Linked DNA regions of Homo sapiens: regions 2, 3 and 4 are each linked to region 1. The links are contacts of gene promoters, found by promoter capture Hi-C in blood cells and fetal thymus (Javierre and others, 2016). All regions are on one chromosome and are shown on one strand. The core of a region is centred on a gene start or on the middle of the fragment in contact, and the rest is flanking DNA. Distances in the headings are between cores, read along the strand shown. Region 1 holds the start of ABCB5 (ATP binding cassette subfamily B member 5). Region 2 overlaps MACC1 (MET transcriptional regulator MACC1). Region 3 overlaps LOC101927769 (a long non-coding RNA gene). Region 4 overlaps MACC1 (MET transcriptional regulator MACC1).

The links. Contacts are between HindIII fragments. The CHiCAGO score rates a contact against its expected background, and 5 or more counts as called.
Region 2: a fragment that was not itself captured here is called in contact with the fragment with the promoter of ABCB5 in region 1 in 1 of 17 cell types (monocytes); the score reaches 5.6 in monocytes.
Region 3: a contact is called between a fragment that was not itself captured here and the fragment with the promoter of ABCB5 in region 1, in 4 of 17 cell types (M2 macrophages, M1 macrophages, total B cells and 1 more). The highest score is 8.7, in M2 macrophages.
Region 4: a fragment that was not itself captured here is called in contact with the fragment with the promoter of ABCB5 in region 1 in 3 of 17 cell types (M0 macrophages, M1 macrophages and megakaryocytes); the score reaches 6.1 in M0 macrophages.

Annotation. Positions count from the first base shown.
Region 1 is chr7:20,612,462-20,619,069 of GRCh38, forward strand. ABCB5 (ATP binding cassette subfamily B member 5) reads left to right here and starts at 3,206. Exons shown (of 28, transcript NM_001163941.2): 1 at 3,206-3,376. The HindIII fragment of the contact is 15,833 bases long and covers 1-3,278 here.
Region 2 is chr7:20,142,878-20,149,644 of GRCh38, forward strand. The region is part of intron 6 of MACC1 (MET transcriptional regulator MACC1); the gene reads right to left. It overlaps MACC1-AS1 (MACC1 antisense RNA 1), which reads left to right. Exons shown (of 4, transcript NR_046756.1): 2 at 4,550-4,660. Among named protein-coding and RNA genes, the nearest start is that of MACC1-AS1, 4.3 kb to the left of the region's middle. The HindIII fragment of the contact is 944 bases long and covers 4,664-5,607 here.
Region 3 is chr7:20,309,200-20,315,984 of GRCh38, forward strand. It overlaps LOC101927769 (a long non-coding RNA gene), which reads left to right. Exons shown (of 5, transcript NR_110117.1): 5 at 1,836-2,513. Among named protein-coding and RNA genes, the nearest start is that of ITGB8, 18 kb to the right of the region's middle. The HindIII fragment of the contact is 253 bases long and covers 4,017-4,269 here.
Region 4 is chr7:20,167,884-20,174,790 of GRCh38, forward strand. It overlaps MACC1 (MET transcriptional regulator MACC1), which reads right to left. Exons shown (of 7, transcript NM_182762.4): 2 at 2,831-2,895. Among named protein-coding and RNA genes, the nearest start is that of MACC1-AS1, 29 kb to the left of the region's middle. The HindIII fragment of the contact is 1,821 bases long and covers 578-2,398 here.

The sequences.
Region 1 (6,608 bases), core at 1,956-4,455:
CCTCCCTCGATATGTTGGGATTACAGGTCCCTCCGTTGACACATGGGGATTACAATTCAAGATGAGATTTGGGTGGGGACACAGCAAAACCATACACCACTGCACCCACCATAATGACTATTGAAAAGAATCATTATGCCAAACATTGTTGAGAATATGGAGCAAGTGGACCTCTCATGCACTGCTGGTGAGCACACAGAGGGTGCAAGCACTTTGACAAACTATTTGGCTCCTTCAGCTAAAGTTAAACACATACATATCCTATGACCTAGCAATTTCACCTTTGTATATATCCAACAAAGATAATATGTTTACCAAAAAACATGCATGATAGTATTCATAATAGCACTCTTCCTAATACTCCAAGCCCAGAAATGAGCCAAATGTCCACCAACAGTAGTAGAATGAAAAATTAAATGGTGGTATATTCACAAGATGAAATATTATTCAACAATTACAATGAACAAACTACAACTACACATAAATCCACATGTAAATGATCAACTGATCTTTAACAAGATGCCAGAAATACACAGTGGAGGAAAGATAATCTCTTCAATACATGGTTTTGAGAAAACAGATATTCACATGCAAAATAATGAAATTAGACCCCAATTTCACACCACTCACAGAAACTAACTCAAAATGAATTAAGACTTAAATGTAAAACCTAAAACTATAAAGGTCCTAGGAGAAAACATAGAGAAAACCTCCCTGACATTGATCTTGGCAGTGATATTTTGAACATAACACCAAAAGCACAGGCAACAAAGGCAAAAAAGTGGCACTACATCAAACTTAAAACCTCTGCACAGCAAAGAAAACAAGCAACAAAATGAAAAAGGGCCAGTCGTGGTGGCTCACACCTGTAATTCCAGTACTTTGGGAGACTGAGGCAGGCGGATTACGTGAGGTCAGGAGCTCGAGACCATCCTGGCCAACATGGTGAAACCCCATCCCTACAGAGTGAGACATTCTGCCTGGGCAACAGAGCAAGACTCCATTTCAAGAAAATAAAATAAAAGACAATCTACACAATGGAAGAAAATATTTGCAAACCACATTTTGAATAATGCGTTAACACCCAAAGTATATAAGAAACTCATACAACTCAATAACAAAAAGACAAATAACCCCATTTAAAAGTAGGCAAAGACCCAAATAGATATTTTTTCCCAAATAAGACATACAAACAGCCAACAGGTACATGAAAAGGTGCTCAACATCAGTAATCATCAGAGAAATACAAATAAAAAACACAATGGGATATCACCTTCTAGCTTTAGAATGGCTATTATAAAAAAGATAAGAGGTAACAGGGGTATGGAAAAAGGGAACCTTGTGCACTTTTGGTGGGAATGTCAATTGGTACTGCCATTATGGAAAAGAGCATCAAGTTTCCTAAAAAAATTAAAAACAGAATTGCCATCTGATCCAGCAATCTCACTTCTAGGTATATACCCCAAGGAAATGAAATCAGTATTTCAAAGAGGTATCTGCACTCCCCTGTCCATTGCGGCATTATTCTCACCAGCCAATATATGGAAACAACCAAAGTGTCCATTGACACATGAATCGATAAAGAAAAGCAATATTATTCAGTCATAAAAAAGAAGGGAACTTTGTCATTTGTGACAACGTGGATGGAACTGGAAGACATTATGTTGTGTGAAATAAGCCAGAGATATGTGTGAAATCCAAAAAAAGTCAAACTCCTAGAAGCAGACAGTAGCATGGTGGTTACCAGAGACTAGGAGGTGGAGGAAATGGGGAGATGTTGGTCAAAGGGTACAAACTTCCAGTTATAAGATGGGTACAGGATGGTGACTACAGTTAATAATTCTGTATTGTATATTTGAAATTTGCTAAGAGAGTAGATCTTAAGCGTTCTCACCAGACACGCACACACACAAACACGTAAATATGTGAAGTGATGGATGTGCTCATTGCAGTAATCATTTCACAATGTATATGTATATCACATCATCATGTTGTAAACCTTAAATATAGACAATAGTATTTGTCAATTATACATATTAAAGCTGAATAAATAAAATAAATTAATTAAAATTATATAAAACTCAAAATTCAGCTCCCTCACTAGGCACATTAAAAGCGCTCAATAGCCACATATGTGTAGCGGCTAGGATATTGGATGTGTGGAGAATATCTCAATTATTGCAGAAAGTTCTGTTGGATGGCTCTGCTCTAGAAGTAACACTTTTAGCTACATTACACCACTTCTGTGCATTTAGATGACATCATGAGATTTTTAAAGCAAAATTAATTATTCCTTCTGTGCATATGACAATTGCAAGTTTATCTCTAGGTTGGCAATTTTCCTAATTATTAGTGCCACATTTACATCTGTTTGCCAGATATTTTCACTTGGACACCAATATCAACCCAAATTTGCATATTTAAACTGAATGTTACCATTTCCCCAAAACCAATTCTGTCTCATAACTTCTCTATTACCATCTTTACTACTCTTTTGTTACAACTTTTAAAAGTTTGATCGCTGAACTTATATTTTTTTTATTTCTTCTTCCTTGTCCTCTTTACCTACCTACCGCCTTAAAAATACCTCTCAAATAGTCTTACTTACTGCTATCAAACTAGATTTTAATGAGTCTACTTAAATCTTGTGTTTCCCCAAGTCCTTCCAGTATATCCATGGCTGTAATGTCAAATAATCAGGTTAATTGTACCAAATACCAATGGCTTTGTCTCTTTCATTCCAGAAAATTATAAAAGTTGTCCTAAAAATTGGTTCAGTGCCTTTTACAATCGTATGTACCTTATCTCTCTCTCCATTTCTGCATGAACAGTCCATCCTATCCAAACCGTTCTCATTTCTCTACCATGAGATAATTCACCTTGCATTCCTAAAACTATGCCCTTGTTCCTCCTCCACATTTTTCTACTTACTGAAACCTTAGCCTTCCTCCAGAAACTAACCTCAGGGCCATCCTCATCTGTGGGCGAAACCATTTTAGATCACAATGTTCTTCCTCAGTCTTCTTAGATACTAGAATAGTCACTCTTTGTACTATTCATCACATAACGTCTGTCTTGCCAGGTATATTAGGTTCCCCTAGAGAAATAGAATCAATAGGCCGTGTGTGTGTGTGTGTGTGTGTGTGTGTGTGTGTGTGTATGTAGAGAGAGAAAGAGAAAACACGCTCATGTAATTGTGGTGACTGGCACTTCCAAAATCCACAAGCCAGACTAGAAGGCTGGAAATTCTGGCAAAAAATTGATACCTTGTATCTGAAAGCTTTATCCTATCCTCTTCAGAAGACTTCAGTCTTTTCTCTTAAGGACTTCAACTGACTGGATGGGGCCCACTCAAAACAGCATCTAAGGAATTAAAGTAAGTCAAAGCAAAAGTATTAGAGATTATGAAAACAATTGAAGCTTGTGAAGAATATAAAACACTTCTCCATCTTAGAAAGAATAGTTTGTGGTAAAGATGGAAACAAAAATGTGTGTGTATGAAACTTTTTCATAGTCAGAAATGATCATCCTACTATTATTTTGGTCATTTTAAAGCATCCATACAATTCATATCTTCTTTCTTTCTTTCCCTGTGACAGGGTCTCACTCTGTCACCCAGGCTGGAGTGCAGTGGCACGATGTTGGCTCACTGCAACCTCCGCCTCCAGGGTTCAAGAGATTTTCCTGGCTCAGCCTTCTGAGTAGCTGGGATTGCAGGTGCCCAGCACCATGCCCAGCTAATTTTTTTATTTTTAGTAGAGATGGGGTTTCACCTTGTTGGACAGGCTGGTCTCGAACTCCTGACCTCAGATGATCCAGCCGCCTTGGCCTCCCAAAGTGCTGGGATTACAGGCATGAGCCACTGCGCCCAGCCATATCTTCTTTCATCTAACCAAAGATCCCATGTTTTCCATCCAACCAGTATATCTTAGCTATTTGTCAGATTATTCTTACCAAGGATGCTTGAACGTTAAGTGCATCTCATGATTTCTTCTCACATGGGTATTTTGTCCTATGATTTCCATCTTGGTACATGAACCTAGAAATATTTTTTAAGGCAAAAGTCCTTATAAATAAAATATTCTGTCTATTTTTACATTTTCTTGTATGTTCCATAGTACTTGCCATGATAGCATCCACACAGCTGTCAATAAGTAAGAATTGGCTGACTGATAGATTTTGTGTAGAGCAATTAAGATGTTCAGAGTTCTTCTCTCATGTTATCTACTTAGTGCTGGATATTACTACCTGATTATCTCACAAATATCTCAAACTTGACAAGTTTCAAGTTAAATTTATCTTCCTTTTGAAACATTGGGTAACAGAGAGGAACATGGGGGCAGCCATCATAGTCAACCTGTAGCTTTCCATACAGTGAGGACCTGCCAACTGGCTCACAAATTGCTTTGACCTTGTGTCGCTTTGTCTCAGTGCACTTTTCTCTACTATCTAAATAGTATTCCTTCTGCCTGGGATAGTCTTTTTGATCTTTATATAGCAACCTCCTTTTATAATTCAGATTGCAGCTTAAACATTATCTTCTACAAGGGGCTTTCTCTGACCAGATGTATATAAATACCACATTACTCTTCATAAAATTACCCTGTTTTAATTATATACCAAAAACTGACCACTCTCTAATTTTCCTTATTTATGTATGCCTTTTTTTAAAATTGTGACTCTCCCTGTAATGGAGTCTAAGCTCTATGACAGCAAAGATGTCTAGGCTGTTCAGTGCTTAAAACAGTACCTGGCACAGTATATATCTATAGAATGAGTAAATTTTTTTAAAAAATCATCTAATGAGCTTGTTTAAAATGTAGATTTTTTTCCAGTGCATTTCTTTAGATTATCATTCAGTACATGTGGGGCAAGGCCTAGGTAGGTGTCTGATATCTTTAACATGCACTCCAGGTGATTCTGATGCCAGAGGTCCTTTGACAATACTTTAAAACTGTGCTATTAACAGCAGATAAAAACAATATGTTGTCAGCACTAAGGTGTATTTTAAACTTTATTTTTATAATCTTGGATTTAGGAAGATAAAATTTCCTCTAGATAAGTAGTGCCTTCTGTTTCTCAAGGCTTTGTGCTAGATACTATATAGTCATGTTTCTCAAAATTTGATATGCATTACAAACCACTTCGACAATCTTGTTAAAATGCAGATTCTATTCAGAAGTTTTAGAGTGAGACCCAAAAATCGCATTTTTATAATGGATTAAAAATATATAATCTAACTGTATGCTGTCAATAAGAGAATCATTTTAGATCTAAAGGCAAATAGGTTAAAATCAAAAGGATAAAAAGAGATAATCCTGCAAATATTAACCAAAAGAGAGCTGGAATGGTTATAGTAATATCCAGACAAGTTACACCTCAAGTCAAAACCTTTTATAAGAGACAACAAAGAACATTAGATAGTGATAAAACAGTCAAATCACCAAGAAGATATAACAACTATAAGCACACAGCCACAAAATATCACAGCTCCTAAATAAACACTGACAGAAGCAGAGAGAAATAAAAACTTCTGTAATAATGGTTAGAAACTTTAAGATTACCCTTTTTTGCTAACAGCTTTATTGAGATATAATTCACATATCATAGAATGTACCCATTTAAGATGTACAATTCAAAAGTTTTTGTATATTCATAGAGTTGAGCAGCCATCACCACATTCAATTTATAGTGGTTTTATCATCTTGAAAAGAAACCCTGTATCCCTCTCATTAGCTGTCATCTCTATTTCTCCTCCACCCAGCAACTACTAACTTACTTTTTTCTCTATGGATTTGCCTGCTCTAGGCACTTCATATTAATGGAATTATATAGTATGTTGTCTTTCGTGATTGGGTTATTGTACTTACCATAATACTTTCAAGGTTTATTTATGTAGCATGTATCAGTATTTCATTTATATGGCTATCTTCACCTTTTATATAATTTCAACTTTTATTTTAGATTTAGAGCTTACCTGTGCAGGCAGGTTTGTTACATGAGTTCATTGTGTGACACTGAGGATTGAGGTGTGAATAATCCCTTCGCCCAGGTAGTGAGCATAGTACTCGGTAGGTAGTTTTTCAGCACCTTCTCCCCTTCCTCTCTCCCACCTCTGATAGTCTCCAGTGGCTATTTTTCTCATCTTTATGTCCATGTGGACCCAATGTTCAGCTCCCATTTATCAGTGAAAACATACAACATTTGGTTTTCTGTTTCCATGTTAATTCACTTAAGATAATAGCCTCCAGCTGCATTTATGTTGCTACAAAAGATTTCATGGCATATATGTGCTGCATTTTCTTTTTTTTTTTTTTTTTTTTTTTTTTTTGAGATGGAATCTTGTTCTGTCACCCAGGCTGGAGTGCAGTGGCACGATCTCAGCTCACTGCAACCTCCACCTCCCGGGTTCAAGAGATTCTCCTGCCTCAGCCACCCAAGTAGCTGAGACTACAGGCATGTACCACCATGGCAGGCTAATTTTTGTACCTTTAGTGGAGACGGGGTTTCACCATGTTGTCCAGGCTGCTCTCAAACTCCTGGCCTCAAGTGATCCACCTACTTCGGCCTCCCAAACTGCTGGGATTACAGGCTTGAGCCACCATGCC
Region 2 (6,767 bases), core at 3,886-6,385, 470 kb before region 1:
TATAGCTAAAGGCTTCTAAGACTGTTCTAAGTCTGCTAGTGATTGAGTCTGATAAATGATGTATTTGAAGATATTTTATGATAAACAGCAACTTAAAACATTTCTGTAAAAAGGGGATGGCATAGTAGATTAGTGTAAAGCATCGCAGAAAACAGACATCTCAAGAATTATAAAAGGGTAATTTTGGGGTTGTCCACTACACTACAGATTCAAATACTTTTACAGTCAAAAGCAGCCAATATGGCCCCACCTACTTTCATGGGAAGAAAAGCTCTGTATCTATGGCCTATCTTGCGGCAGGACTGTGAATTGCTATGTGTAGAGGAGCCCTTAGGCACACTCAGTCAAGAAGCAGCTTCTCCATGCTGTTGAGGGCAGGAAATACCACAGGTGATGCAAAAAATAGAAACTACAGATTCAGGAAAGGTCCGACGACACATCTACTCATGCACTTACGCAGAGCACCACATAACGTCCTCACATTTGGCAATTTGTTGTTGTTGTTGTTGCTTTGCTTTGTTTTGTTTTGGAGACGGAGTCTGGCTCTGTCGCCCAGGCTGGAGTGCAGTGGTGTGATTTCAGCTCACTGCAACCTCCCACTCCCTGGTTCAAGCAATTCTCCTGCCTCAGCCTCCCAAGTAGCTGGAATTACAGGCACGCGCCACCACGCCCAGCTAATTTTTTTGTATTTTTAGTAGAGACAGGGTTTCACCACCTTGGCCAGGATGGTCTTGATCTCCTGACCTCATGATCCGCCCGCCTCGGACTCGCAAAGTGCTGGGATTACAGGCATGAGCCACCACGCCCAGCCCTACATTTGGCAATTTGTACTAACAACAGAGTAGTGTCGATAGCTCTTGCAAATCAGAGAAATTTGGGTACAATACTGAGTCCTAGGCCCTAATTAAGATTTTTGAAGGTGTAAAGACTTCCCAAGAGTCCCCTGAATTTGTCTGAAATGCAAGGGGGAATATTGCCCTAAACCGATTTGAGACTCCCTGGAGTGTAAGCTGTAATCTGGCTAGAAATGGGTAAAAGAGCATTGGGCTGAAAACAATAGGGCGTTGGTAAACTTTACGATTTACACTAAAATATGAGCATACTCTGTATTCCATTTTTCTTCCTCATTGCAGCAAATTAAACCTGAATATTCCTTTGGTGCAAAAATTCATCTTCTGTGTACAAAATCATTGGTAGCTCTCAACAAAGATGATAGAGAAACACTTTTATAGCATAAATACAATGAAAATATTCAACATTATCATTGTTCATTAACTATTTTGCTTATCAAATCAAGGTTTATTATCTTCCACTACAATAAATTTTGTTACAGTAAGAAAATGATGAATATTGCATGACTCTTGCTTTTAGAAGCTTATAGCGTAGGAAGGAGATAGACACCTGCACAAACACTGGCACAGGGGATGAAATAGGATGTGATAATTACAGAAAAACTCAAAAATTACTTGCATATTTTAAATCAGTGTGAGAAAAAATGATTGTTGTATTCACTGATGCTATAATGGAAAGAAAGATAGGTTTGGGTGGCAGAGTCCTGTGTCTACATCTGAGTTCTGTTGCCTATTTGATAGGTTAATTTGATAAACTAATCAAGTTATTTCAGCTTGGAATTTTTTTAATCTATAAAATATGGATAATCATTCCCAAATTTTGTGTTCAAAATACCTCATGATGTATCTGGCATATAGTTTGCATTTATACTTCTTAATAGGATAGAGAAGAAAGTACTTATTTTTTTGGCAGGGGCAAGCTAAAGAGCCTATTTTCAGCCCTACTGAATATCAAGCAAAAGGGAGGGTATCTGATAAAAAATTACAGTTGGAATGAGGAGATGACCTTGAGAGGACAGACAAGGGTTTAGCATCACTTGTGCTACAGGGATGGCAAAACACATGAGAGCAGAAGAAAACACCAAGGAAGAGAAAAAAGGGATGCAAAATTTAATTCTCAACTAAGTCAATTATTAGTGGATACAAGAGAGAAATAGACGCAATAAAAGGATGGGGAGAAGCTGGAGTCAAAGAAAAAGAAAGTGAATCACATGCTTCATCTTGCAAAAGCCAAGAAGTATAATAACATCCCAAAAAGGACATGCATTGGCTTGCTGGAGCCAGCTCACACAAGCTCCCTGGATATCCTCCCAACTCCATGTTCCACAACTCCAGTGACACCACAATGGTAGGTTAAAATGATGTACGATCGGAATATTTACACTAAGAACATTAACAAAAGCTATAAGTTTAGATTTTTTCCCTCTGCAGGGTTGGTTGGTAAACATATGCCAGTGTAACACTGAGGACTTCCCTTTTCTGTTACCTCCACTGCTACCTGTAACATCAACAATGTGGGAATATAAAGAAAAACTTGGCAAATCCAGGATTTTGGAAATTAGCAGGACTTTGGTAACTTGGAGAAGGCAGTTTCAAGAGAATAGTCGGGGGCATACGACAGGTACAAACAGGTATCAAAGAAATGGAAGACACCAAACAAATGGGTCACATCTGAAATTTGAGTGTCAAAGGAAGAGAGACAGAACCAGAACAAGCAGCAGTAGAAAATAGAGGTATTTTTAAAAGAAAAACAAATTTAAAAAGTAATATCCTACCAGAACAAGCAGCAGTAGAAAATAGAGGTATTTTAAAAAGAAAAAAAATTTTTAAAGTAATATTCTATGATGGCAAGGGGATTTGGATTTGAATCTTAGCTTTGCCATATGGAGAACTTAAGGTTAATGAGGCTTAAAGAGGTAGCATATATAAAGCACCCAAGAAGAAAGGTTAACTTCCTTTGGCAGAAACATAAATACAAAAGGATGTTAAAATCATTATGGAGTTAGGGCACAAAATTAGAGGGGCAAGTATCATGAGAAATCGAGAAGGAATGAGAACAAAAGCATATGTCAAGACTTATGTACTTAATACACTGATAAAAAATATTAAATTGGGGGAACTATGTTTTCCCTTAATAAGTAAATCTCTAGGCTGGGGGTGGTGGCTCACGCAAGTAATCCCAGCACTTCTTTGGGAGGCTGAGGTGGGTGGATCATGAGGTCAGGAGTTCGAGACCAGCCTGGCCATTATGGTGAAGCCCTGTATCTATTAAAAATACAAAAATTAGTGAGGCGTGGTGGCACGCGCCTGTAGTCCCAGCTGCTTGGGAGGCTGAGGCAGGAGAATCGCTTGAACCCAGGTGGCAGAGGTTGCAGTGAGGCAAGATCATGCCACTGCACTCCAGCCTGGATCTCAAAAAGAAAAAAAAAAAAAAAAAGTAAATCTCTATTTGAGCTTTGCCTTAAAAAAACCTGATTAATCGTCCAGGTCTCTTCAATACAGTAAATAGGCTAATCAGTTGTTTAATTGTCCTTTGTGGAATAGATATATGAACATTTGGACACAAGTTCTAAAGGTACTTTTATTTTTTCTGCATTTTTTATCTCATTTCATTCTGGTTTTCTTAAACAGTAAATACATTTTATCCAAGGCAGAGACATAAGAGGTAATTTGTGTACATTAATTAACAATAAACTCTATGAAATTTGCCCTAAAATATCTACCCAGTAAGGTCACAAAAAATTCTAAATTTTTTAATAAATTACAAAGAAAATGAAGTCATCTTTTCTGGAAATGTTTGAAGGAATAAAATGCGTAGAATAAATAATTTTCTTTCCGGACTGACTAACATTTAATCCTCCGAAGGCTAGAAAGGAGTTGCAGACAGCCAAGATCTCTTCCAGATTTATGTTGTCTTGTATCTATTCTGTGTTTTAAAAATAGTTGTTCCTCTCTTGCTCAATGTTATGATTAGAAAAGATATGCAGAAACTCTACACTTGTGTTTTGAAAAATCTAAAGGAAAGCCCTCTCAGGAGGGCTTGTTTTTTAGTTGTTAAATTATTCTTAACCACAAAAATTATCTCAGCCTTCTCATTTCTATCACAAATATTTAATACATAGGCTGCATTCTTATGCCTCTATTCTTAGATTTTTAATGGTAACTTCATGATGTTGCAGTTTCATTCTTGAATAGGAAGCGTGAGGCTGATAAAAGCACAAAGTTGTTAATTTTCATCTATGTGCTTTTCTTTTTATAAAAAAGGGCAGCAGCGTGAGTAAGTATTTAACATACAAAGTTGAGCAGTTTTCCAAAGTTCAAGCTTTTGTGTGGAAGAAGTGTGTCTTAGGTTATCTTTTCAGTGTTATAGGACAAAATAAAAAGTAATGGAGCAATAAAAAGTAATAAGTGGGATGCCAAAAGAAATGAAATAGGAATAAAGGCAAAACATACATAGTTTTCCAAATTTAGAGTGCTCATTCCCAGAAGCCAATAAGACTCATTAGAAAATGCACTAGAAAATGAAATGCCACATGAGTAGAAGAAATTCAGATTTCAGCATAGCACTGTATGTCTTTTTTTAGCTTATAAAATATGAATAGCATAAAGAATGCAATTGGTTTTAACTACTTTTGGATAATTACATTTTGTCACATTAAAGGATTAGTAATCCACTTACTTCTCCTATAAACTTACAGGAACAACACTTCATTTTCAGTACCATTAGCTGAAGAAGTATTAAGGCAAGGTTGCCTTCTTAATGATTATTTCATGTGTTCTATCCTCAGTACATCATTTACAATATTCAGGTAAGCTTTAACACTTAACATTTAACATTACCTATAATTAGTAAGTACATAAATATTGTTGAAGGTAAGATTGCTGTTGTCTTCAGAAGAGAAGGGAGGCTAACATATCTGGGGGCCCCTATGTCCTCACGAGGGAGATGCTGCTTGGTTAAAACTTGACACAAGATTCCATTGAAAAAGTCTATTTGAGGACAACCAGCTAAATTTGGGTGAGAATAACCACTTGGAACTTCAGGGGTTAAGCATGAGCCAGAGGAAGACAGAGGACCTATTCCTTGCTAGTGCATCTGCTTAAATAGTCTAACATTATAGGAAAACCTGCTGGTTAAGCCATCTTACCAATTCCTAGTTGGGAGGATTCCTCATTGCCTCCTCATCATCACTGCCACCCATGCCCCTGCCAAAAACATATATTCATGGAGACAACTGACACCAATGTTTAAAGAAATTGGGCTCCTTCAATTTAATTTTTCAATGTAAACATTAAAACAAATGAAAAAATACAGTGTCAAGAGCTCTGGATTTAGCGGCACACATCTTGGTTTAAATCTAGACTCTTGGTTTAGTAGCTCCAGGATCTTAGGTAAGCTATCACCTTTCTTTAGGCCCTTGCTTTCCCCTTCTGGCAAATGAGAAAAAAGGTGTACCCAATGCTATAAAAGAATTGCTAAGTATACAAAGGAATGGATGTAAATGTTTTTGGCACACACCAAGTGCTCAATTAATGCTAATTATAGTTGAGTTTAAAGTTAAGAAACAAAATCACAGTCAACTATCCAGGAAAAGAACCCAGGTAACCTTGCTATAAATCTAGGGCCATTTTACTAAAGTATTGCCACAACTTTATTTCATTATTAAGCAGTTCTAACAAATGCTGATTTTGGTCTTACACATAGCTGGATTTTGGTTTTCTGAAATTCCTTATTGTTTATGTTCCCTAGTACTAAAGCTTGAAAAAGAAAACCTAAAGTCAAAATTAAATAGTGTCTTTAAATCCATTTTGAATTTTCTTAATAATGTTTAACTTAATATGCATGTTATTTCTATTTGATTTTCAGTGTATAATATAGAATTAAGTCAAAGATCATAGGAATACAATGTGTTACCCCAGAAATTTCACTGTGCTATCTTTGTTTTCTTTCCTACCTCATTCCTCCCAAAATGGAGTATCTTTTTGAAATTAAAGTTTGTAACAAGTATAGAATTGTACAAAGTAGACATGGTAATCTAAATTGTACAAAGTAGACAATGGTAATCTAAATAACATCACTGTGCCAAATCTCTAGTTCAAACAATGGAGATTTGAGATATCATTCTATACATTTTACAACTGGTATGTGAATTTCCATATAATACTTTTCCCTTCTCTAAGAAATTATAAATATATTTCTCATTTCAAAAGAACAGCAAACAAAAGAATTAAGTACCAAGGCTAGAACTGAACCAGGCCCTGATACAGACCTTGATAATTCAACATCCCTGTAAGCAGAATCCAGAAGTTGCCATGTAAGCCAGAAAACCATACAGCCCAAGGACATTTCTTTTAACTTTTGCGAGAGATAATTTCCAAGGAAAATTAAATGTTGTTAAGCCCATAAGAAATAAGCTGATCAGCCAAGACTTTATCTCATTTTTTTCCATGCATTGCTATTCTGCCAGTTTCTCAGATGAGAAACCTTGAAATAACTGCTAACTTTTTCCTTACATTCTTCCTATAGGCACTCTCAGTCACATTACTAAAAAAACAGTGTATTTTATTCTATTTTCCAAAAATTACTCAAAGTTATATAGTTATCAAATTCACCTTTTCCTCTTCCTCTTCATTAAAATAATAAATAATATGTATTTAGTGATTACAATATGCAAAACATTGTCCCAAATATTACACATTTATTATCTCATTTGATCTTCTAAACATCCAGTGAGTAAGATAGTATTATTCTCCTTACTTCACAGACACACAAAATAGATTCCCAGAAAAGTAAAGTAATTTGCCCAAGGCTTGAGGGCTGATAGATGGTAGAGGTGGAACAGAAGTCCAGCCAAGAATCTTAACCTCTATGCTCTGGTAGTCACTGAAGACTCCCCTCCATTGATACCAACATAT
Region 3 (6,785 bases), core at 2,893-5,392, 300 kb before region 1:
ACGTGAAAGTAAATGGCCCACTAAGATTGAAATGCATTGCTTTGAACTAAAGAGATATAAATTCTAATATCTGAATTCTTCATGGCTATATACATGTATACTAAGTCCTTTTGCATAGTGGCTGACTCTTTACGCTTTTGGCATATTTGAAGTTAAATTTTAATTCATATTACATTTATTAAGTACTAAGAAGACACACTCACCTACTATTTTAGAATTGTTTGTAAGTTTTAGGTCTTGTAAGTTTATGAAAACAACACTGACACACCATAATATATACTGGTTTCATAGCACTTAACAGATTTGGTAAATTTTACCTACAAGAAAATCAGTTCTTTGAGTTTTTCTTAGGTTACTGATTTTGCATTTAAAAGTTTTTACCTTGATTAAAGACTCCAGGTTTTCTGGGGGACTGTGTAGTTGACTTAAAAACTAACCACTATTATACAAAATTTTAGTTGAGAGAAACTATCTGTGTCTTCTTTTTTTTATTGCTATGATTATAGAGCCAACACACACAATCATGTAGGTTGAGCACTGCCAGGGAGCCCTTCTCAACCTATGTGTGGGGCTTCATATATAGTGGGATTCATTTTGCAATTCCCACTGAAACTATGCCATGAGTTTGCTCATCAGATGGAAAAAAAATTTCTGCTTTGATAATGTCGAATGAAGTATTGCTTTACTCTGTAAATGTATAAAATGTAACATTTTAGGGTTGAGGGGACACTTAGAGATCTTCTGGTTCTCCTCTTTGGTTTCATAGAGAAGGAAAATGCCCCCACAGAAATCATGACTCCTTACCACAATTTTATCACCATATATATACCCTAAGAGTCAAGATTAGAGATGGCTCTCCTGATCCCTGGCCTTGGGAATATCGCTTTAAAACCATTCAAGGCGACATAGAAAATATTACATTTCTATCACATAATTCCGTAGATACAACCTTCTAAGTTTTTAGCTTAATTTTCTTCCTAGACAATTTTGTATTGTAAATTACTAGAGGACAGAAATAATTTCTGGATAATTCTGTGGGCAGCTTGCTATGTAATCCAGCAACATGCTAAGTAGGCTTTTTTTTGAGAAAGGATGTCACCATCTTCATTGATTAATGTAGTGGAAAATATTTAGAAAAGGAGCTGTTTCATGCTACTCTGGCATCTATTTTGTGAAAGTATAATTTTGGAATATTGACATTAAATAACGGAACTAGAGTTTCTTAAGAATTACAATCTTTACTTTCCCATTAGTGTATTGGGAAACTTCACTAGTTTATTCATCTTCTCTATGGAGGTTTTCTTTATTACTATCAACCCACACTTTCTCTTTTCTTCTTTTTTATTACTCAACACCAATGTGTGGTTTTTAATGAATTATTTTAATTTGTTCCTGTTCTCTTGCTGCATCTAGAGAGATTGTCAACTCCTTGTGTACTGAGGTTGTCGTTTACTTTGTTTTCGCTTCTCTATGATGCTGGGTGTGTATACAGCCATTGCTAAATGTGTACTACTTAAGGTGACAAGAATTGAGCTAGAAACACTTCATCAAAAAGTCCTGACTAATTAGAAGCAACTACCAAATGTAGTCTATATTGCCAAAAAGCCTTATCAAAAAGTGTATCATGAATCTAAATGCAAACAGAATTAATGGTTAATGAGAAAATTTTTACATAAATATTACTCTAAAACAATATCTAATAGTGATGTCTAAAACTTTTTGAGTAGATTAATGCATACTGATTAAAAGAACAAACAAGGAGTTGAAACGAGTGCATGTCATCACAAAATCATAATGCCTTTTAAAAAACATTTTATCCTTTTCTTTTTTTCTAGAACTGAAAGGGGCACATGGCAGATACAATCATAAACTTTCATTTCGGAGAGCAGTAAAAAAGGAGAAGAAGAACACACTGGTACTCCAACAAGTCATAGTTTCTGCCAGATGTTGCAAAAGTGAGTTAGATAACTGACCTTTCTTCTGGGGCCTGTGTCAACTTTGAATGGAGCTTTCAATTGTACAATAAGCATCTGGACAGTTTTGACATCTTTATAACACTCTTTGAGTTCTTAAAAAGCTACCATTTTGTTTAAAGATGATTTATGTGAAGATTAAAACAATTACTTAAGTGCTAAGAATAATTAATCCTGTAACTCCATATCAATACCATTATCTTCCCAGAACTGGGTCTCTAACTACTAATCATAATCAAGACACCAACTGTCAAATCAAATCAAAATTAAAATTTGATTAATTATTTGATGATATTAACATTCAAATCTAGTTCCTTCTTAGGCCTAATTTTGTCCTTATGTTTGCTTTGCACTGAATTATTGTGGTTTAAATAGCCCATTTTACATGACAACTTTCAAACAAGAGCATAAATTCTCATAAAAACAGGCTAAGGAATTCATAATGATAGCTCTTGGCCGCCACCTAAAGGTTTATTTCTTGTTTTATTTTACATGAGACCTACTATGCATTCCTTTTATAATAAAATTGTTGTCTTGTCATCACATGTTTCTGCATAAGTACAGGGTAAAAAGACTTTTTCAAGTTTGTTTTTTCACCTTTATGTAGTTAAATTAACAGCATATATAATTATATCTACTTTTCAATTCATTCAACACAACACACACAAAGAAAACCAGTTTAAACAAGGTTCTTTTAAATGGTCAGAAAATTTTTATGCGTTTAAGAAATAGTGTGTTCTTATTATGTATCACCCCCCACACCTAAGGCCCGTAATGAAAGAAATTTAACTAAACTCACATTTACTGAACCACTGTTGAGTGTAATGTAATAGAAAACTCCTCAAATTCCATCAAGAACATTAACAGATATAACTTCTTCATTACGCTTGAGAGTAAATGAGATACTATAATTAATGATTCTTGCTCCGTATCTTATTATCACTCCCTTTATTCTCCTCCTAAAAAGCACTTGATTGAATCAAGCTAAATATCTTCAACGCCTTACTTGGACTCTGACAAAGTCAACCTTGGAGAATGGATTTATGATATCATAGGGAAAATTAGTTATGAACTCTACAAACTTCTCATTTCAAAGCTCATATGGATAGAGCATCTATGAATCACTCAAATTCTTGTTAAACATATAGACAAGTTGCATTAGCACATGCACTTTCCAATATATAGTCCATGTACTTATCCTTGATTTATCTATAGAACGCCATTCATGATTTTATTAATTCAAAAAATATTTACTAGGCACCTACTATGTGCCAGGCACCCATCATTATCAGTGTTCAGTAAAGCAGACTGGTCTTTCCCTTCATCGATCTTGTGAAGGCAACAGAAAATGAACAAAAAAATAGGTAAAACATATAAAGATACTGGCTACAAAGGAACTGAATACCATACCATTATAGGGAATAATTCTGGGGAGACACAGACCAACAATAGGTAGGTAAGTCAAGAAAGGCCTCTCCTAGGAGACAGTTTTTAAACTGGGACCTGAAGAATAAACAGCCGGCTCTGCCAAGAATAGAGAGGAAGAGGTGGAGGAAATTGTGTACGCAAAGGACAAATACTAACAGAGGGCCAAGGGAACTAAAGCAGAGTGAGCCAAGGGGAGTGTCATGGATGGGATTAGAGAAGTAAGCAGAAACCAAATCATGCAAGGCCTTGAAAGCTATGGTAAGGATTTGGGGTTTTATTTGAAAGAGAATGGAAAGCCATGATAGCAGGTTAAAAAAGGAAGTAAATTGATCTGTTGGCTGCATGAAGAAGGAATTAGAGGCAGCCAAGAGAAAAGGGAGATAGAAGTCTATCACAGAAATACAGATGGGAGAGATGATGGTGATGGTGACATGGACAAGGTGGTAGCAGTGGAGGCAAAAACAAGTGATCACATTTGTGATGCATTTTGGAGTGAGGCCTTGGTGGATCAGATGACCCTGTGGTTCTGCTGTTCCTTCCCAGCTTGTTAGCATCTGCTGACATAACTTTGAAAAGCTGACATAGTTTTCCAAATAAGATTTTAAATCACACCCAAGCTTTTAATTCAGTTTTTTTAAGTTTTAAAGAAAATATCTTAATAGAATGACCAATTTGTACATCGAGAAACACTTATTATATAGTATCTTCTGCAAATGAAATAGTCCACAAAACTAATTTTATAAATAATGGAAGTGTATCTATTAAAAGCAAAAGAGCTTATTTTACTTTAACCACTTTGAAATAATTATTTTCTAAAATTGTTCAATATTTCCTTGATCTTTCAAACAGAATATATTCAAAATAGTTAAGCTTCTCAAAAACTCAAACATATTGTGAAGAAACGTATATGAAACATACCTCTGTAGTATGTAGTATGGCTAAAAATAGTGAGAGGCAAAAATGAGTTTCCCCTACTCTGAAAAACTGAAAACTACCTTGCTGTGAAATCATTACATTTTTATTTTGTTGCCTCAGTTTCCCATAGTCCTTATGGTGCCTGACTGTCGTTATCAACTTCTGACTCATTCTAACACACTGCTTTACCTTGGCTGTAAGCTGGGAACCCTGCTATCAGAAATTCATGTAAGTTTATAGAAAAAGACTCTAAGTAAAGGGTATGAATTTTTGCATTCTATTTGGATTGCACAGAGGCCTTTTTACACTCTGCTTTCTCAAGTATAGTTTAGGCCATTGAAGCTGCTTAATCAGCAACATGTAAGTCAAGGAAATCTCCCTACATTAGCATGTTATTTCCTACAGTTTCATAATGCCCCTTGAAAACTGAATCCACATTAATATATACATTATCATTTTTAAGTTTCTATAAAGAATCCTTCCTTGTGATACAACTTCAACTACATAATTATAAATGTTGACTTTTCATTTGATGCCTAAAGTATAGTTTTCAAATGTAACATAAAAGCATTTTATGGTAAAATTTGACCCAAAAAGTAGAATTTATGTGTCTCATAAAAGCATATAAAATTTGACCCAAGAAATAATTTCAAATTTCTTGACTCAGACTATAATATTATCTCTTTTCTTTTTTCATTTTGACATGGCATGGAAACAAAAACAGATCAAATGTCCACAGAAACCCAATCAGCAACACTACTTTCAAAGTGTCTTTTGACAAGTAATATGTGCATTTTACAAATCCAAAGGCAATATTTGAAGTAGCTCTTCAAAACAGCTGCATTACTCAAAGCTATCTCTGTATCATCGCCTTGTTTCCTGGAAGAAAATGTGGAAATGTGTACTGAAAATGTGTAAATGATTAAAGCATCAGTATAAAGAAAAAACATTCTGAAGATGAATAAAAATTATTTTGAGGGCTTGTTGAAAAACCAAACACCAGATGTCCACGGCTGACTTGCCAAATGAAAATCCTTGAAAGAAAGGTCCAGAAATTGGCATTTCAAATGAATATACCCCAGCTGATTGACACAGGTGTTCCTTTGAGCAATCCTGGATAGCACTGTTGTAGACCCTAGGTAAGCAATTGTGTGATCTGCTTTTTCAACTTTGTGGTAGATTGTATTTTCCAAAGATGACAGCACCAGTACATACCATCCTATATGCTCTTCCTATAAGGTGACATTGACATGTCTCCACCAAATGATGGGATTTACGTTACCTCTTCTTGGACCCGGGTGAACTTTTGACTACAGTAGAAGTGACACTATGTGACTTCTAAGGCCAATTCATAAAATGCAATACAGCTTCCTCCTGGCTCCCTTGGGATGCTGGCCCTAGGAAACCAGCCACTATGCTGTGAGAAAGCCAAGCAGCCACATGAAAAGGCCACATGTAGGTCTTTCAGTCATAGATCCAGTTGAAATCTCCATTGACAGCCAGCCTTTAACCACTATGTTAGTGAGACTTTAGATAATTCTAGCCCCCAGCTTTTGGGCCACCCCAGTAGACAAAAGACAAGCTCTTTCACCCAACCCTGGCCAAATTTCAGATTTGTGAATACAATTTATGTTGTCACTGTTCTAAGCCACTAAATTTTAAAGTGGTTCGTTACATAGCAATAAATAACAGAACAAATTCCAAATGCTTCCACATCTTCTTCAGATAAAATGTAAAGCCCCACGTAAACCTTCATGCATTCCAGTTTGCATTTAAGGATTTCATATTCTATCCAGCCAGATCCACCCCCAGCCCAGACTGACTTACTGGGTCCTGCTTTAGTTAATTGGCTAAGTCTGCAGTTCTCAATCAGGAGAGATTTTGCTTCCCACAGAACATTTGGCAATGTCTGGAGACATTTAATGGTTGTCACAACTGGGGGGAAGGGTACAACTGGTATCTAAATGGTTAGAAGCTAGAGGTGTGGCTAAACATCCCACCGTCCACAGCACGACCCCTCCCCTGCAACAAAGAACCATCAAAGCCTAAATGGGGGCCAAGGTTGAGAGACTCTGACCTAGCTCTGGTCCCCAGCAATGAGGTACTCGGTTTTCACGAATGTCTTCATCATCATGAAGGTTGAAGGTTCTCAACCAGGAATTAAAGAAATAGTGTGTGCTGGGGGAAGGGGAGGTTAGAATATCAGGATTTTCAACCTACACTACTGCTACAGCCTAGATGTTTGTGTCCCTCCAGAATTCATATGTTGAAATCTAATCCACAATGTGATGATATTAAGAGGTGGGGCCTTTAGGATGAGATTAGGTTATGAGGCCTCCCACGAATGGGATTAGTGCTCTTTTAAAAGAGGCTTGAAGGAAACTTTTTTTCCCCTTCCATCATGCAAGGACAGAGTGAAAGGGCACCATCTCTGAGAAGCAGGCTGTCATCAGACTTTGAATCAGCTGA
Region 4 (6,907 bases), core at 238-2,737, 450 kb before region 1:
ACAAGAGGTCCCATATTTTCATTTTTCACTGGTGCTGCAAATTATGTAGCTGGTCCTTGTTCACAGAGTTGGCAACCTTTACTCTTCAGACCCAGAGAAATGACTAAAATTACAAGGGGCCATGAAGAAAGGAGAAAAGCATTATTTTGGATGAAGAATGCTCATCTTACAGATGATGAACCAAGCTGCAGAGAGGTTGATAGTTATTTGTCTTTTTTATTTGAATTCCCTACAGTATGTTCATTTTACACGTGTGTGTGCATGAACATACCCACAACACACATGCACTTCCTTGGCTTAAAAATATGTTGAGAAATTTACAAATAGTCAAATAACACAATGAGTTTAAACAACAAGTAAGTGTATATTATTCTTCAGTAAAAAAAAAAAAATTTAAAAACAAAATAAGTGAATAAATAAGGGTGACATTTGCAGGAAGTTGGTAGGACAACTTCAAATAAAAGCAACTTCACAAACATCATGCTGTAAATTCCAGTATACCTATTAGCAGTAGTCCACACATTTGGCTCTCCACTTTCTGAAAGTGACCAAAATAAGGTAAACATGATTAGTTACAAGCTTCACAGTGATCATAGAACACAAAGAAGCCACTTAACAGCAGCACCAGCAATACCTGGAATAAAGAGGGGTGAAGAGGAGCATGTAACTACTGGGGACAGTATCCTCGGTCCCACCTTTTACAGTATGTTCAACAGTAAATCTCTTTAATGGAGCTCTTTCTTAATGTGTGTTGATGTCATCTCACCCAAAGGCAATTCTGTCAAGTCAGGTGGAGAAGAGTGGGCCCAGCTAGACAGCTATCTGCCTCCCTATTCTAAGATAAGCACACATGTCAGGTTACAATCCCAAAAGGACAGGACCTAGTCCAGTAAAGCCCACTATGCTTGGTTCCTCTCAACAGAGTTTCCCTTTCCACTTTTCAAGTCAGAGCTGACTGAGACATTCTAGGCCTAAGATCCAGAGCAGCTTTTTCTTTTGAAGACCCAAACAATTCACTAAGTTAAAGATAGGAGTCACGTTCTCTTGTGAAAATTGAGATGAGTAAATTTGAGATGACAATTGAGATGAGTAGCTAAAATGTAGCCTGAGCAGAAGATCATTCTACTTCTGCATGCTGTGCCATGATAGGGACTGCAGTTTTCCTCAGAAACAGTTTTGTTACTGCTCCCACACAAGAGCATACATTTCCAACTTTCAAGGCCACAGAGCAAAGCTGTAGTACTTTCATTGTGAAAAACATTTAATGACTTCTTTTACCTAATCCCCACTGTTGCCATAAAATATTCCCAGTGATATGTCTCTCAGGTTTAACTTTAAGCAATAGATGTTTCAAGCAAACTCTGAGAAATAAATTAGCTACAAATCTTGTCCCTGGGATTGGACAAGTTTAATTATTGCAAGAGTAGTTGGATATGACTTTGTGTAGTTATGGACCTGCAGTCATTTTTCTTTCCTGTACCCTTCAGTGCAAAAAACGTGTTCTGGGTTGTACTTTTCAAAAGGTATAAAGATCAACCCCCAATTCAGAAGGGGTGGACAAGACGTGGGTTTATAGTGTGGCTAATAAAGCTGTAACTGTAGGGTCCTCACTTGCATGGTCTTTTCTAGCAAACTGAGCCAAATTCTGTATTTGTTTTCTCTGCAAAGCTCCACTGCTTCCTAGAACACTTGACAGTATATCAGGAGACCTCACTGGTTGTCATCAGTCAGCAATGTCTTTCCTTTCTTTTATGTAAATGCATTTTTGTAAAGTAGAAAGAATATAGGCTTTGGAGTTACAATTCTCTGGTTACAGTCCTTCTAGTATAAACTTGGAAAGATACTGAACATTTCTGGAACTCTACTTATCATCTGTAAAGAACTAAACTAAAATAGGTAATAATTAGTATTACTATCAACATATAATAACCCCACATGCTGTTCATAAGGATCAAATGAAATACTGTATAAAAAGTGGCACAAGAGGACCCCTTGCTTTTCCTCTGGTCTCTCCCTCCTGGTTATTCCAGTGCATATAGAAATAACTTTGCCAACTGGGCCCATTCAAGAATCTTCTCCTCTCAATCAGATGTCTTGAGACTCCAATCTCTGATAGCTTACAAGTTGTGTCTTGGGACCCTGTATCCTATTCTTCACCCTTCATAGAAAATTTTACCAGTGCCATGATTCCTGCCAAAAGAGTGACTGGACTCATCACAGCAGAGGCACTGGAGTGCAATAGAAAGAACGCAGTCTTTGAAAATAGACAGACGTAACTTCAGACCAATGCTTAGAAATGAATTCACTGGTCTGAGCACCATTTCCTCATCTACAAAATGAGGGTAAAATATTGTCTTCAAAAAGTGGTTACAATGATACGTGAAATATATCTCAATAAAGCTTTTTTAAAAAATTGTTGTAAATATTGAAATAACATAAATCCCCAATGAACATCAGTTGCTGCTTAAAATGATAATTCTTCTCTGTTTTTCACTTCTGTGCCAATTCCGTTGGTCTTAGACAATGTAATGAGTGGTTACTGACAAAGATATGTAAAGAATATTGGAAAAGAGGAAACAGAATAAACACTGTGAAAGTTTGTCATTTTAGCTTAACAGATTATTCAACTTGACAATACTTTTCACCTCTCTGAAGGGGAAAATGTAAAAATTATTGTATCGTTTAAAATTAGATTTGTGTTAGTACTTTTGCAGTAAAAGCAAGTATTTTTAGCCAACACTTGCTGAGTTGTTACTGTATGGAATTAATCGTAAGATTCCCAGCATTCTTTGCCAAGAGAAAAACACTCTGACATTTTGTGTATACTCACAGTTTTCCTTGGTTTGAACTTCAAACACTGATGTGAATCATTTGCATATCATCTGACAAGGCTACCTACTTGAAAGAGAATAAACATGAATCTTTGGTCACTGTTAAGTGAAAACAGAATGTTTATGCACTAACGTTTGCTATGAGAAAGAGCTTATGAATAAAATTTGGTAGAATGGGTAAGATTAAAGAGAGACTCATTACACCACACCATCCAATTCATACAGCAGGAATTTCCCTTAAATTCTCAACAATTGATTACATCTAGTTTCTAATGTTTCAGGGAATCACACTGTTTCCATTTGTTATTTTTGTAAACAGAACGGTGTGCAACAGTATGAACTCTTTGTCAAAGCAGTGACTTGAAAAATACTAATGCGCATACATGTGTGCATATATCTATTCAGAAATATAGACAACTGATAGAGAAAGATGGATATTGATATAGACATATATATGATTCAGCTGAACAAAAGTATTTTTGTTATTATTAATGCTCCACTGATTTCTGATTACTAGAAACTGGAAGATTATTTTATTTTCTTTTTTTTTTTTTTGAGGTGGAGTCTTGCTCTGTCGCCCAGGCTGGAGTGCAGTGGCGCTATCTTGGCTCACTGCAAGCTCCGCCTCCCAGGTTCACACCATTTTCCTGCCTCAGCCTCCTGAGTAGCTGGGACTACACGTGCCCGCCACCACGCCCAGCTAATTTTTTTTTATATTTTTAGTAGAGACGGAATTTCACCGTGTTAGCCAGGATGGTCTCGATCTCCTGACCTTGTGATCCGCCTGCCTCGGCCTCCCAAAGTGCTGGGATTACAGGCATGAGCCACCACGCCCGGCTGATTATTTTCTTTCTTAGAGACAATTATATCTGTTTTTTTTTTTTTGAGATGGAGTCTCGTTCTGTCGCCCAGGTTGGAGTGCAGTGGTGTGATCTCAGCTCGCTGCAACCTCCACCTCCCAGGTTCAAGCAATTCTTCTGCCTCAGCCTCCCATGTAGCTGGGATTACAGATGCCCACCACCACGCCTAGCTAATTTTTGTAATTTTAGTAGAGACAGGGTTTCACCATATAGGTCAAGCTGGTCTCGAACTCCCTACCTCAGGTGATCTGCCCACCTCGGCCTCACAGAGACAATTACATCTTCAAAATTTCACTTATTTCAACACGGTATCAAGTGATGATGTGAGTTACAAGAAGTCTGGAGGAAAAAGCTGAGAGAGGAAAACTGCCCTGGGTAAGAAAGGAAACCAACTGAGGAGACTGAGGATTGGGACAAGTGATTGTAGCCTAGAAGGGAAATACGAAATAAAAAGACATAACTAATGAGAATATTCTGAGGGAAATACTGAGAGGTATGCATTGTCAACCCTAATATCTAGTTCTCCCACACAATCTTCAGAAAAATCCATGTTACTCACTGATTCAGGAAACATTTATAGTGTAAAATAAGAGGCATTGAGTCCAACTTAACAGCAGGAATAAAAGGAAAACACAGCTGCCCAAATGAACATACGGGTTACAAGCAGGGTGAGCTGCCATTGATCTGGGTTTGCCCAGGACTGCCCTGTTTTAAAATCCAAACCTCTCAGTCCGGAGCAAACCAGGATGGCTGGTTACCACAGTTACAGGAACATGTTAGTATATAAGTACGTAGTCCAACATAAAGAATGTAAAATATTCAATGTAAATCTCTTTTCTATCTGTATGGATTTTTAAAGTATTTTAAACCATCATGAGGGAGAAAATAAAATATATAAATATATATACGCACATATATATACACACATATATACACACATATATATTTGAGCTATATAGGAATGACTTTAATTTCATGTTTAAATTAATTATGTTTTGTTATTCTACTTTCAGGTGTTAAATTCTAGTGGAAACAGAATAAAATACAAAATAAAATACAAAAGAAACCATTCAGAATAGAATAGGCAGAATTGTCCATCACTGTCATTTTTAATTCTTTCAATTGACCTAAAAGTTGAACCCCATCACTTAACCGCCCAAAGTGACAGTGAACCTCTCCAAGAAGGAGCTCTTCCTCTCCTTTTTCCTCCATCTCCCCTTTATTTAATGCAGGTGGAATACTCAAGGTCAGGAGCCTATCTCCTTGCTGAGAGCCTGTGCTGCTCTGGGGAAGCTAGTGGGTTCCTTGTGATCAGCTGGGGAGACGGGAAAAAGCCTCAGAGTTGTCCCCACAGCACCACCTGGTGCCAGGTTGGGGTCTTCCTGGACTGCTGTTTAGGAGTTTTGTCCTGTTCTTGCTTTCTACCTCCTTATCATTTTCCCTAAACAGTTTAGTATAAAATTGGGGTTCTCAACCATTCCTCTGCATCAAAATCAATTTCAGAGCTATTTTTAAAAATACAGATGCCCAGAAATCATCCCAAAAATCCGAGATGGATCCCAGGCTTCATTTATTTTTATAAAAAGTTTCTGGGAGATAAATTGAGAGCCACCAAATCATAATTATGAGGTGATAATATACATGTTTTGCTTTGTTTTCTAAAAACATATTATTAAACATAATAAAATATATGGCAGCTGAAGATGCCCATCCTTACCCTGGCACAAACATGTCTCGGGACTATGTGCTAGACATAGGATTTCACTATGATAAAGGAAAAATTTACAGCTCTCTTTCTTGGGGCATGGCCCTTTCTAGTATAGCCTTGTGATTATAGGAAAGATTAGTTTTGTTCCAGGTTTTAGGGACAAATTCTTCCTCCCTTAGTGTGATTGTCAGGGTCAATATCTTTGTCTTTTCTTTCCCTTTGAATTGTAAGATCTAGATAGTGACACTTCTGGATAGTAAGGTGATGTAAAGGTTGCCTTTGGCATAAGTCCTTGTTCTGCCTCTAGCTTATGCAAAAAGTGGGTTGCAAATAGAGTGCGACCTCAGCCACTCATAAAATTGTGTGTTTGCCTAGCATTATCTGCTTCAAACCTATTGTGCTAATGGACAATCTGATCTTGGGTCCTAGCCACATACCATCTTGGCCCAACTAACCAGTAGTCTCTGAAATGTAATAAATTCATTTAAATGATGGTGCCATGAACCTGTTTTAGTACTGGCTGGGGTCACTGAGATTGATGCTCTTGGGTATGATGGGGAAACTAGCTCTGAAAGTGAGGCTAAAGGAACTCTCCTGTCTTTTGAGGAGCAGTTGCGTCACATGAGTATGTTCATAACGTGGACAACTGCTTCCTTTGGGTATATAGATTCAGATTTGATTCATAAAAATTGGTTTGGGTGTATGGTTTCAAAGAAGTAGGTAAGTTCATGGATGGTTAGTTGGATGAACAGACAACAACATTCAGCACTTAAGTGTGACTTCCTGATGATCTGAGGTTGCCTGAATCACAGGGACTTTCTCAATCCTCTTTGGACCCCAGCACTTAGCATAATTCTAGAATAAGTTATGAATAAATATTGGTGTAATTATTAAAATTAAATGATAATGCAATATGTGTATAAAGACAAAGAGACAGAATTTGTCAGTGAATAAGATGACAGCTCATCTGTAAGAATCGTGTTGGGAAGCTTTCCCCAATCAGCATCTGGCAAAACTTAAATATTTCAGGGGAAGGAATGTGAGAAGTTCATTTTAAAACTTCTAGGATCAAATACAATGAATCTACTGTTTGAATTCAGGTATGAGAAAGAAATTTTAAAATGGTTAACTAAATTTCATGGCCCCAGCAAAATCAATGTTATAAAAATATAACTATATGGGAAATTGCAGATATTATAATGTTATGGGCAAAAGCAAGGTATAAAAGATTTTATATGGTATAATGCCTTGTGTGGGTATACAAACATATACAGCTTGCAGAGTTTTTTAATAAAGAAAAGTACGAGAATAAAATAAAATTCTCACCCCCAAAATCTACTATTGATGTTTTGTTTTGTGTGTATTATTTCAAATGGCATTTCCCTATTCACATAAAATATTATTAAAAAGGAAAATATAAAGCATATAGTAAAAGCATGTACTGTGTGGGTATCTCTGAATGCAAAATAATGTTCACATTTGTGTATGACTATTCACGGTATCAACAT